Linked DNA regions of Homo sapiens: all the other regions are linked to region 3. Evidence: promoter capture Hi-C in human tissues and cell types (Jung and others, 2019). All regions are on one chromosome and are shown on one strand. The core of a region is centred on a gene start or on the middle of the fragment in contact, and the rest is flanking DNA. Distances in the headings are between cores, read along the strand shown. Region 1 has its middle 33 kb from the start of FMN1. Region 2 has its middle 57 kb from the start of RYR3-DT. Region 3 holds the start of FMN1 (formin 1).

Region 1 (4,159 bases), core at 1,515-4,014, 34 kb after region 3:
AACAATTCTTAACTCTGAGTCTCTGGCTCTTCCTCCATGAAATGAGGGTAATGAAGGGACCTGGGGAATAGGGTCATTGCAAAGATTAAGTAAGATAATGTGTGTAAGATATTTAGCAGCTTCTCAAGGCTGTCTGCCTTTCTTGGTCCATGGCCAAGAGGCTGGCTTCTTTCTTCAAAGCCAGCACTTGTATCACTCAAATCTCTGCTTCTGTTGTCATACCTTCTTAAACTCCGATTCTCCTTTCCCCTTTGTGATCACACTGGGCTCACCTGGAAAATTCAAGGGACTCTCACCATCTTAAAATCATTAATCACCTCTGCAGAGGCCCACAGGAGGGAACATATTCACATGTTCTGGATTCTATGTTGTCACATTTGCAATGGACTGAATGTGTTCCCTCTAAAATTCCTATGTTAAGACTCTAATCTCACTGTGATGGTATTTGTGTGTGGGGCTTTGGGGAGGTAATTAGTTCATGAAGGCAGAGCCCTTGAGGATTAGTGCCCTTATAAGAACAGGCCAGAGAGCCAGCCAGCTCTTTCCTCTGTGTGAGGATACAAGTTAGCAGCCTGCAACCCAGAAGAGGGCTCTCACCTTAACTCAACCCTGCTGGCACCCTGATCTTGTATTTCCAATCTCCAGAACCGTGAAAAATAAATATTTGATAGTTTATGGTATTTTATTATGGCTGCCTGGGCTGACAACATCTTTGGGGGGGCTGTTATTCAGCCTACCATGTCGGGAAAGGGGCAATTTGTAGCTTTACCCTGATTTCTATATTCTCTCCACGTAGTGGGAAGAACCCAATATATTAAAGAGACTGTTATAATCAATGTAAGGTAGGTAGGAGCAAATACAGACCCAGTTGGAATTCAAGGCTGAAGATGCCAAAGCAGCTACAAATATGAAAAAATAATCAGGAAGGGTGGCTTCATATTAAGGTCCACTTTTTCTTCCTACATAGAAGGAATTTTCCCAATTTGGAAATAACTCTCCCCAGTTCTCTCTTGTCTTTATATAAGGAGTCTGGAGGTTACCAAAAGTGCTTTCAGAGCAGTGGTTTGCAGCCTTGGCTGTACATTGGAATTAAGGCAGGAGAAAAGGGAATTAGGGTAACCAAAGATTAAGGCATAAGCAAAAGAACAGCAGGTGCAGGCAGTTCTAGCCAAGATTGGGCAGCATACAAGCCACATCCTCCTTCCTGTGATAACAAGACAGAAGTTTCCACTTCAGACTCTGATTGGCCTCAGGTCAATTTTTCATAGACTGCCACCAGTTGGAGGCCTCTAGAGGGCACCTAGGGGTATTGCCAAGTTCTTTTGGCTTTATAAATACCCTGGGGAGCATTGCAATAGGGAGGCTCTTGAGCCACTTGCTCAAGTCTGCTCCCACTCTGTTAATCGTACTTTTGCATCTTCAATAAATTTATGCCTTTATTACTCTACTCTTTTATTTTGTCTTTTGTTGCTTCTTTTGTTGCTTTGTTTGTGCATTTTGTTCAATTCTTTGTTCAATACGCCAAGAACCTGGAAAACTCACAGTCAAGACGTTCTATCTAGTGATGGAATCACCTGGAGGAGCTTTTCAAAGATACCAATACCCCTAAATAAAATCAAGATATCTGGAGTTGGGGCCCAGGCATGAATATTTTAAACTGTCCCTGGGTGATTCTGATGTGTTACTAGGGTTGAGAATCAGCTATAAAGGAAGTAACAGGATTCCTCTTCCGGAGGCCCACAAAATTTTCTCTCTCTCTCTCTTGCAAATACTTCACTTTGTTCTGAGTATTTCTGGGAATCAATGGTTTTGAAGGTTTAAACATTTAGAAGGTTTACCCTTGGGGAGCCCTCAGGACTATCTTGTACTTTCTCTTCTTCCGCAGTCGTGTCAATACCTAATCCACTGGAGACCAAAGTTTATTGATTCTTTTAAACTCTTTCTTGCATACCAGATATAAGTGGATAATAAATAAAGTTTCTTGAACAACTAGTAATCAAGTAAGCTGCTGTAAGACTTTCTCTGCTGGGATAATGAACTCCAAATAATCGAAGGATCAATTTACCTCTAGCCTCTCCCCCAGGCAATTAAGATATTTAAAGCCTGAGGGCACATTTTAATTTCCGTCTTTTACCTTTCCTCAGTTAGAAGGCCCTTCCTCCTCCATCTCCATGAGTTGAAATCATATCTCTTGGTCAATTCCTGTATCAAATGACACCTCTCCCATTAGCTCCTTTTTGTTCATCTTTTTCCTTTGAGCCTTTTTGTATTATCTTGATGACACTTCCCTCATGCTTCTTTGCATTTGTTAGTACTTTCCTTTTTCCTTGTGAATAGAATATAAACTCTTTTGAAGTAGGATTATATAATAAAATATACAATCCTCTCATGCCTATTTTTCCTAGCAAAGTAATGCAGGTGAAGGGACATAAAAATTCCTAATGGACATTTTCTCTTTTAAGATTGATCACTGGTGATCTTCCCAGTAGGATAAAACCTTGGGGAGAAGATGAGTTTTCCATTACATGAGAAGTCACTGGAAGACTATATTTCAGGCCCATTGTTGACTTATAAATTCTCTAGATTAGAAATACTCAGACCATGCCTGGAGAGACAGGTGAATCTTTCAGCATCCAAACCTTAGATTCATCTCTTATTTCCAGACTACAGTACTGACTGTGGACTGTGTAGGGTGTAAACTGTCAGGGGGTTTTGTTTAAAGTTGACTGTAAATGTAGTTCCAGGTTTAGCTGACCTGGAAGGTAGGAAATCTCCTAACCACCTACATTTTCAGCAGAGAAATTCTAGCAAAGGCAAGGATTCATATCCAGGAAATCTATTTCCTTGCCCATCAGACTCTCTTAGACTTTCCCCATCCACCACACGGCCCTAGCCCTCGCCCTCGCCCCATCTTTCCACCCCTGAACTCCTAAGAACTGCTGAAAGACACTGCTATAGCTCTCTCCACTCTTCTGTGTCTGCTCAGTGGGGCTGATAAATTCAGGATCTGAAAATCCTTAAGTTAGATTCAGACTTCACCAATCTACTGAAAAACCCTCCAAAAGAAAAATAAATCCCAACCTCCAAGCAGGGGATCACCCTATTTACACTACTGGAAAATCATCCCTCTGCTGGCTAAGGATAGATGACCCCACACTGGGGCAGATTTGCCAGCTGAGAGCCATGGGATAGCAGCCTGGAAAGGAAGGCTTTTACAGCCCAAGAAAATGGAGAAGGACCTGCCTGTTCATGGGCCCTGCCACAGAGCTGGAAGCTCTTGAGTTTGGAGACCACAGACCCTTCAGGATTCAAACTCATTGAACCCCAAGAGGGGATATCTTCATCTGTTTGGCCTGCTATATAACAAAGTATCATAGACTGGGCAGCTTATAAACAACAGAAATTAATTTCTCATAGTTCTGGAGGTTGGAAAGTCCAAGACCAAGGTACCAGAAGATTTGATTTCTGATTTTCCTGCTTTCTGGTTCATGGATGACCATTTTCTTGCTTTGTACTCACATGGCAGAAGGAGCAAGGGAGCTCCCTGAGGTCCCTTTTGTAATGGCACTAATCCTTCTGCCCCCATCACCCAATTACCTCCCAAAGGCCCCACCTCCAGATACCATCACATTGGGGATTTTAATCTCAGCATGTGAATTTTGGGGAGACACAAACATTCAGTTTATTCAGGGGGCAACTGATGGTCTTTTAAGCTGACACTCACACACAAAGGGTGATGACCTTAGTGTAAAGACAAGGATTTCAAAGGAGCTGATGAAAACCTAACCAGTAAATATGTATGTTGTGTGGGATAAAGATCAACCATGAACATTTCAAATGGGCCTTACAAGAGAGCAACCTGCAGGGAATAATGTCACCCCTGGAGTGGGTTGGGATTCCCCAAGTCCAGTTATTTTATACTAAAAATTATTGCCTGAGAAGGTCATGGTTATGTGTGAGAAATAAAGCCTTACATGCCTACCCCGACAGCCAACTCAGACAAGGCTGCTCTTGGTGGAGTCATCTTTCAAAGGATTACTTTAGCTTCCTGGTTAGCCCTGAATTCAATGCCCTCACTCTTCTTCAGTTGACGGCTGGGCGCAGTGGCTCATGCCTGTAATCCCAGCACTTTTGGAGGCTGAGGCGGGCAGATCACTTG
Region 2 (4,300 bases), core at 1,173-3,672, 59 kb after region 3:
CAATTTATAAAATGGAAATGATGTGTGCCTACTTCGTACAATTATCTTGAGGTTGAAGAAAGGACTTATCACAAAGCCTGACACAAAATAAATGTTCAATAAATGATGATCATGATGATGATTATTTTGAGATAGGGTCCTGCCCTGTTGCCCAGGATAGAGTGCAGTGGTGCAATCATGACTCACTGCACCTTGGACCTCCTGGGCACAAGTGAACCTCCCACCTCAACCTCCCAAGTAGCCAGGACTACAGGCATGTGCCACCATGACCAGCTCATTTTTGTATTTTTTGTAGAGATGGAGACTCACTATGTTGCCCAGGCTGGCATCATTATTATATTAACGGTATCTAAACTGGTTCAGCATCATTAATAGTCCCTCTTCATCCATCACCTCAGGGCATTCCTCCAGGCTATGTCTCTGTCAATCATTCTCGCTCTGTTCTGACTAGCTGTAGTTCCTTCCTTTGCCACATCCTTCTTTGGCTTCTGCTTCTCTGTCCAGCCCTCTTGGCCTCACTTTTTTGCTGTCGCTGTATTAGTCCATTTTCACACTGCTGATAAAAGACATAGCAGAGACTGGGCAATTTACAAAAGAAAGAGGTTTATTGGACTTACAGTTCCACACGGCTGGGCAGGCCTCACAATCATGAAGGAAGGCAAGGAGGAGCAAGTCACGTCTTACATGGATGGTGGCAGGCAAAAAGAGAGAGAATTCATGCAGGGGAACTCCTCTTTATAGAATGATCAGATCTTGTGAGACTTATTCACTATCGTGAGAACAGCATGGAAGAGACTTCCCCCCACGATTCAATTATCTCTCACCAGGTCCCTCAAACAACACATGGGAATTCAAAATGAGATCTGGTTGGGGACACAGCCAAACCATATCAGTCACCTCTACTTCAGATATTCTGGTTTTTGCCCTGGACACCATCCTTGGGCTCTTCCTTAGTTTCACTCTGTCACCTATAAATCATACTCCCCAACTGTTTACCCAGCCTAGCACTTGGAACTGTAAATCCTGTATGTTTAGATAGGGCATGAAGGCTGTCTGAAGCTGCAAATCTTTTGTCATGATACAAATATGCTATGACCACTAAGTGGTCAACATAGTGAGCTTTGAGTTGATTTAATTGCCAGTAAATACATGGACCAGTAAACAAATTTACTAAGTAGTTGACTGAGAGAGAAAAGTTGGGGGAGTTTACTGCTAGAAACAAATATTTGGATGGGTTATGCTAATTAAAAATGGAAAGTTTGCACTCTGGATAGGGATAAATGAATTCACATGTTTGTACTAGGTAGATTAAGGCAAATGTCTTTGTTCACTGGCCAAGAAAGTGTTTTCACTTTGATCCAGTAGGGCTCTGGCATACTGGGATCTCTTAAAGGTCTTAGTCATTTGTCATCTTTGTAGAGTGAATTGCTCAAAGATGATAGTCTCCCTCTCTTTCTCTTTTAAACTTTTTATTTAGACATGTTTATAGGAAAACATAGCACCAAGGGGCCCCATGTACTCATTACACAGTTTTCCTCAAATACCTTTCATTTCCATAGTACAATATCAAAACCAGGAAATTGAGATTGGTGCAATGTGTGTAGATACCTCTATGACATTTTATCACAAGTGTAGATTGTGCAACCACCACAATGAAGATTCGGAACTCTTTCACCACCACAGAGATCATCCTCATACTACCTCCTTATAGGCACATTCACTTTCTTCTCCTCCACTATCCTTAAACACTAGCAGCCACTAATGTATTTCCCATATCTATAATTTTATTACTTACAGAATGTTCTATAAATGGAATCATATGGTGTGTGATCTTTTGAGATTGGCTTTTTGTTCCACTCTTTTTATCCCTGAAATCCATCCAAGTTGTTTCATGTATCAATAGTTTATTCCTTTTTATTGCTGAGTAACATTCTATGGTATGGATATAACACAGTTTGTTTATTCACCTGTTGAAGGACATTTTGCTAGCTTCTAGGTTTGGCTATTACAAATAAACCCGCTGTGAATATTGTGTACAAGTTTTTGTGTGGATGTAAATTTTCACGTCTCTGGGATAAATGCCCAGGAGTGTGATTACTGGGTTGTATCATAAATATATGTTTAATTGTTTACAAAACTGCCAAACTACTTTCTGGAGTGGCTGTAGCATCTTACACACCCACAGATAAATGTACAAGGGATCCAATTTCTTTGCATCCTTACTAGCGTTTGGTTTCATCATTTTTTATTTTAGCTATTCTAGTAGGTTTGCAGTAATAGCAGATCATGGTCTTAATTTGCATTTCCCTAAAATCTAATGAATTTAATCTTTTCATGTACTTATTTGCCATCTGTGTATCCTTTTTGGTGAAAGTTTCCTCATGTATCTTGCCCATTTTCTAATTGTATTGTTTGCTTTTATACTATTGAGTTTAGGGAATTCTTTATGCATTCTATCTATGAATACTTTATCATGTGTGCGACTTGTAAATATTTTCTTCCAGTCTGTAGCTTGTCTTTTCAGTGCCAAAGAGAGTTTTCACAAAGCAAATTTAAAAAATAATTCATGCCCAATTTATAGATTTTTTTTTTCTTTTATGGATTTGGTGTCATATCTAGGTCTCTTCACAAAGCTCTGGGTCCCTAGGATTTTCTCCTATGTTTTATTCTAAAAGTTTTATAGTTTTCTGTTTTACATTTAAATCTATGATCCATTTTGGGTTCATTTTTCTGGAAGATTTGAGGTTTATGTAGAGTGTTTTTTTTTTTTTTTTTTCCTGTGGTTGTCCAATTGCTGCAGGACCAGTTGTTGAAAAGGCTATCCTTCTTTCACTGAATTGGTTTGCACTTTTGTCAAAAGCCAGTTAGCCAAATGATTCTCTTTTAACAGTTTCAGCTGATTAGATCCAGTTGTAGTGATACAGCATTTTGTTTTCATATTCATAGGCAAATGCTGTCATAACTGGATTTTTTTCCTTTTCCATGGCATAGGCAGAATATAAATGTGTGATTAATTATACTTGAATTCCTAAGTAACTTTAGTAGCCCTCAAGCTAGGACAGATGCATGACTAGTTAGTAAACTCTGGATCTTTCTATGCCATATAACATATTTTGAAGCCTGGGTCTACATACATAAAAGCTTTTAAGAGTATGGACAGTATGTCCTTTTTCCTTAGTTCATTTCTATACAGTATAAAATCCATGAATATGAACCACTTGCTGGTGAATACAAACACAGATGCTCACCTGCTTTCTTGATAAATAGTTTCATTCATGCCATCCTAGCAAATAGAAAGAATGGTATCGGCAGGGTGCGATGGCTCATGCCTGTAATCCCAGCAATTTGGGAGGCCGAGGTGGGCAGATCACCTGAGGTCAGGAGTTCAAGACAAGCCTGGCCAACATGGTGAAACCCTGTGTCTACTAAAATTAAAAAAAAAAAATTAGCTGGGCTTCATAGTGCACACCTGTGATCCCAGCTACTCAGGAGACTGAGGCAGGATAATTGCTTGAACCTGGGAGGTGGAGGTTGCGGTGATCCAAGATCATGCCACTGCACTCCAGCTTTGGCGACAGAGCAAGACTCTGTCTCAAAAAAAAAAAAAAAAAAGTAAACAACAACAAAAAAATTAGCCAGGCATGGTGGTGTGCTCTTGTAGTCCCAGCTACTTGGGAGGCTGAGGCAAAAGAATCACTTGAACCTGGGAGGCGGGCGTTGCAGTGAGCCAAGACAGTGCCACTGCACTCCAGCCTGGGCTACAAGAGTGAAACTCTGTCTCAAAAAAAAAAAAAAAGAAAAAAGAAAAATATTATCTGTATCAAAGACCTTTTAGATGAGTCTAAAAATGATCAGACCGGCCAGGTGCAGTGGCTCACACCTGTAATCCCAGCCCTTTGGGAGGCTGAGGAGGGTGAATTGCCTGAGCTCAGGAGTTCCAGAACAGCCTGGCCAACATGGTGAAATCCCCGTCTCTACTGAAAATACAAAAAATTAGCTGGGCATGGTGGCGGGTCCCTGTAATCCCAGCTACTCAGGAGGCTGAGGCACAAGAATTGCTTGAACCCCAAAGGAGGAGGTTGCAGTGAGCCAAGATCATGCCACTGCACTCCAGCCTTGGCGACAGAGAGAGACTCTGTCTCCAAAAAAAAAAAAAAAAAAAAAAAAAAGATAAAAAAATAAAGAAAAAAATCAATCAATAAATACATAAACAAATACATAAAAATAATCAGCCCTTTGGACTTCCTATAGCTTTTCCTTCACCTAGCAGTTTGTCTTTGTAATAATGCAGCAGGGAGCT
Region 3 (4,264 bases), core at 430-2,929:
TCACTACTCTTCTCCATTGTTTCCCTCCATTGAGGCCATTGCTTCTTTGTTCCTGCAATATGTCTAACTATTCATTGGTCCTGCTCCTGGACTGTAACACAGTTGAGAGAAAGGAGACTAGTGTTTAGATATCTGATCAAGAAGACCCGAGACCTCATTGATTCATTGTGGAAGCAACATCTTCCACAACGACAGTTAATCTGGTATGCAATTCTCAGCTATACTGTTTTCCCTCCCAAAAAAGGGTTAATAAGTCTGTGATCCAAGAGATTTGCAGTAAGCCCTAGAAACAGCTAAGCAACGGCTGTTGAATCCCATTGGTGTGCCTATAAGATGCTACCTGGTGTAGAGAACAGAATATAATTCTCTCTCCTAGGAATTTAGATGCGCCCCTCCGCCCCCCTGCCAATACACACGCAAGGGGGCATAGCAGATGATGGCACATGTCCCATATGCAAACATGAATAGTAAACATGCTTTAGTACAGCTGGAGCTACTGTAGCAGAAAGTCAGGTTGTCTGCTACTCCACCTGGTCTTCTTAAAGGATTGGGTCTGGACATTCACCTCTCAGTGACTGCCACTCCCCATATATATCACAGGTTCAGGCTCTGCATTCAGCCCATTCGGAGTGTGTGAGTGCTAACATGGAACTCTCCAGGAGACAGCAAGCAGAAATGTGGATGATTAAAATAAAGGGTTTTCTTTGGCAATCTCAATTGCAAATGAGGATAAGGAAAATCCTCCCAGCTCACACTCTGCTCCCAGCTACTTGTTCTTGAGTTAAATGAGGGCTTGGCTCTGGCCTCAGGGGGCAAGAGCACTGTTCGTTATTTGGTGGTGGGGGAGGGGGTTGGGGGATCCGTCAGCACTTACATGCCTTTAGAGAATCTGCCTTTACAGAACTTGAAGAGCTCTGATGGAGGAACAGAGATGCTGTGGTGGTAGTGGCCTTGGAGGTGGTGGTAGTGGCAATGGTGATGATGATGATGATGAAAGAAGAAGAAAACGGTGATGGTAAATGTCATCTATAAACACAAGCAAAAAGCAGCAACAGATACCTTTCTAGTCATTGCCAACCATAGTCATGAAGCTGCTTCTGTTCCCAATGCAATCCCATTGTGGTGCTCCCCCTCTGCGCTAAACACATCCAGCTTCAAAAAAAAAAAAAAAAAAAAAAAAAAGCTCTGCATCTCTCCGTCCCCCGCCCTCCCGCCCTCCCGCCCTCCACCTTTCCTGTGCCAAGCTGGGAATGAGACTGCACTGGCGGGTCAAGGGGGCTGGGACCTGAGAGTCAACGACAGGAGTTCTGTAGTGAGGAGCGTTGGGATGACCCGGAGGGCCCACCAACGTACTTGGGAGCAGCTTGGTGGGGGAGCTGGAGGAACCGACACAGAAGGGGAGGAAGATAAGCTGGCGGGGTAAATAGACTTGATGCCTCATTCCAAGAACCCTGAAAGCCACGGGGGAAGGCGGAGCAGGCAGCCTTTGGTCGGGAAGAAGAGACGGGCAGATGGCCAGCAGAACAGACAAGACTCTCTTTACCTGACCAATACTCGGGAGGCTGGTCCCGAGTCCCAGCTACTCGGGAGGCTGAGGCAGGAGGATTGCTTACGGCAACAGCCGTGGCGGCTGCAGCCTCGAAGGATGCTGCGCTCCAGTCCAGAGCCAAAGCCCAAAGGGGCAGCTGCGCCGACCTCCACCGAGGCTCCGCCCCACAGGCCACAGGCCCCGCCTTCCTAGCACGCGCCGGCCTGACGAGCTGTTTGGGGGAGGTGAGCAGTAAACTGATCGGCAGGGCTGAAGACCAGTGGAAACGTGCAGCGGCGCCCGAGGTGGCAGGGGAGGCGGGGCGGGAGGCGGCGGTGCCCAATCAGCAGCCGAGCCGTTGGGCCAGGCTGGGAAGCAGTGCTGTCTTTTGGCACCGTCTGATCCGGGCTGAGGGATTGAAGGCGGTGGTCGCTAAGCTAGGTCTAAGACGGACAGCCAGGGCGACAACCAGTCTCTCGCTACGTGTCCCCAGCTTCCCTGTTTCCGAGCGCCTCTCAAGGCGCACGCTCTGGACTTGTTCAGATGGGGGAAGGGAACTGGTCTGGAACTCCCCACTATTCCCGAGGTTCCCACGCCTCCAGATCCGGAGAGGCCGTTTCGCTCCAGTGGCCTGGCCCCCCTGCCCCCTCAGCCTAGCCGTTCTTGATCGTAAGTGCTAAAAGGAACAAAGAAGGAGAATTCAAGAATCCACACATAAGCCCAAACCCTGACAGGAGCCTTTTCCTCTCCCATCTCCTGCCTACGCTTCCTCCTAGTAGCTTTTTAACTGCTGGCGGTTAAGTTACTTTGACTGGTTTGAATTAAACGCAAAATAGGTTTAGGCTGAGAAATGGGCCAGACCCTTGGCGATCTGAGAAAGAAAGACTGAGTCCGGATGTCAAGAGGCCTGGGCCTCACGAGGGAGTTTGTCTGCTTATTTGAACACCTCAGAGTTGAAGATCTTGTTACTGCTATTTCTGTGCTGGTGAATCAGTACAGACCTTGATGCCAAGGTACTGTTTTGTCCCCAAGTGTCTAATCATTACTGAAATGAACTACCTTCAAACCTTTCCTAAGAGGATTTGAGGCCTTAATGTCGTTGAGATTTGGAATGTGATTTGAGTGACACTGAGATCTTTTCCAAGTAGGTAGGCAAGAAAAGGCATTGTCTTTAATCTGCTTTTGGATAAATGCGAACTGTATCACCCATTTGGTACTTGAAGATAGAATTTTGTCCTGAATAGATTCTGTTTTCAAATAAGTAAATGGGAAAAAAATTTGGAAGGTATTTTTAAGGTGATTTTTTTCACTATTTTTTTTCTAGAAATAATAGTTTATTGGAACTCTGATTTATTCTTAATCACAATATTAGCCAAACACTGATAGGCCCTTTATTTATTTGTTTTTTTAACACACGGTCTCACTCTGTCACCCAGGCTGGGGTGCAGTGGTGCGATCTTGGCTCACTGCAGCCTCAACCCCGTGGGCTAAAGCCATCCTCCCAACTCAGCCTCCAAAGTACCTGGGACTACAGGCGGGCACCACCATGTCCAGCTAATTTTTTAATTTTTTATTTGTAGGGACAGGGTTTCACCATATTGCCCAAGCTGGTCTCAAACTCCTAAGCTCAAGCGATCTTCCCTTCTCAGCCTCCCAAAATGCCGAGATTACAGTTGTGAAGTGCTGTGCCCGGCTCCATAGGCACTTCATATACATTATCTCCTTCAATCCTCATATCTTCCCCTTGTAAATTCCACTTATAGATAAGAAAACTGAGGTTCCCAAAGTTCAAGTAATTGTCCTTGGGTCATGTTCGTAGTTAGGAGTAGAGTCAATACGAGGTCCGTATATCTCCTGTCTAAAAATCATCATCATCAGTTAGAAGAATAAGAAGCCCTCAGTACGACTCTTAATTCCTTGATGCTTTTTTCTTTTTACCTGAAAATTGTCATATAGGGATCCAGTTTTCACACTACTGACTTCTTGAAACCGCAGCCTCAGAAGCACCTTTAAGAGTGAAGTGTCACCTCTGACATGTGTTAGGAGCAATTGCAAGTCAACTTTGCTCATAGAAGGGAGCTGTGATTTCCTATTGTTGGGAAGGAAGTAAAATTTTGCAGGGCTTAAGTCAAACTAGGTTTTAATTGATGTAGAAATCTTTTAAAGTCCACCCACAAAATAATATCATGGTCGTGTGAGCTGAGTCCTAGAAAGGTAAAAGGATGTTAATCCAAAGTCATATTCCAGCATTGTTTCAACAGTGTTCTGAAGAAATTCCTAAATCCTACTCTGGCCTTTAATCAAACCTGGAAATATGTACTTGCTCTAAGCTTGGTAGGGGGAGGGAGTAGGAGGTGTTTTAAAGAGAAAGGAGAAGAAAAATATTTTCCCAAAGAGGCTATTAATAAAGACAAAATATAAATAAGTTAAAGGTTATAGATCAATACAAAGGTATACACTAATTAACAAGTTAGTGGAGTTTTGTTTTGTTTTGTTTTGTTTTGTTTTGTTTTGTTTTGTTTGAGACAATTTCACTCTGTCACCCAGGCTGGAGTACACTGGTGTAATCTCGGCTCACTACAACCTCTGTCTCTCAGGTTCAAGTGATTCTCCTGCCTCAGCCTCCTGAGTAGCTGGGACTACAGGCATACACTACCATGCCTGGCTATTTTTTGTGTTTTTAATAGAGATGGGGTTTCACCATGTCGTCCAGGCTGGTCTCGAACTCCTGACCTC

The links. The method cuts DNA at HindIII sites, captures the fragments that hold promoters and counts their contacts. A contact is called where the count stands out against the background at its distance.
Region 1: a contact is called between a fragment that was not itself captured here and the fragment with the promoter of FMN1 in region 3, in 2 of the 25 tissues and cell types used here (bladder and psoas muscle).
Region 2: a contact is called between a fragment that was not itself captured here and the fragment with the promoter of FMN1 in region 3, in 1 of the 25 tissues and cell types used here (aorta).

Annotation. Positions count from the first base shown.
Region 1 is chr15:33,225,507-33,229,665 of GRCh38, forward strand. No RefSeq gene overlaps it. Among named protein-coding and RNA genes, the nearest start is that of FMN1, 33 kb to the left of the region's middle. RefSeq lists an enhancer at 1,222-1,271. The HindIII fragment of the contact is 3,929 bases long and covers 801-4,159 here.
Region 2 is chr15:33,251,160-33,255,459 of GRCh38, forward strand. No RefSeq gene overlaps it. Among named protein-coding and RNA genes, the nearest start is that of RYR3-DT, 57 kb to the right of the region's middle. The HindIII fragment of the contact is 8,588 bases long and covers 1-4,300 here.
Region 3 is chr15:33,193,035-33,197,298 of GRCh38, forward strand. It overlaps FMN1 (formin 1), which reads right to left and starts at 1,680. Exons shown (of 21, transcript NM_001277313.2): 1 at 1,544-1,680; 2 at 875-1,026. LOC105370759 (a long non-coding RNA gene) reads left to right here and starts at 1,877. Exons shown (of 3, transcript XR_932090.3): 1 at 1,877-2,541. RefSeq lists silencers at 1,659-1,998, 1,773-1,982. The HindIII fragment of the contact is 9,448 bases long and covers 1-4,264 here.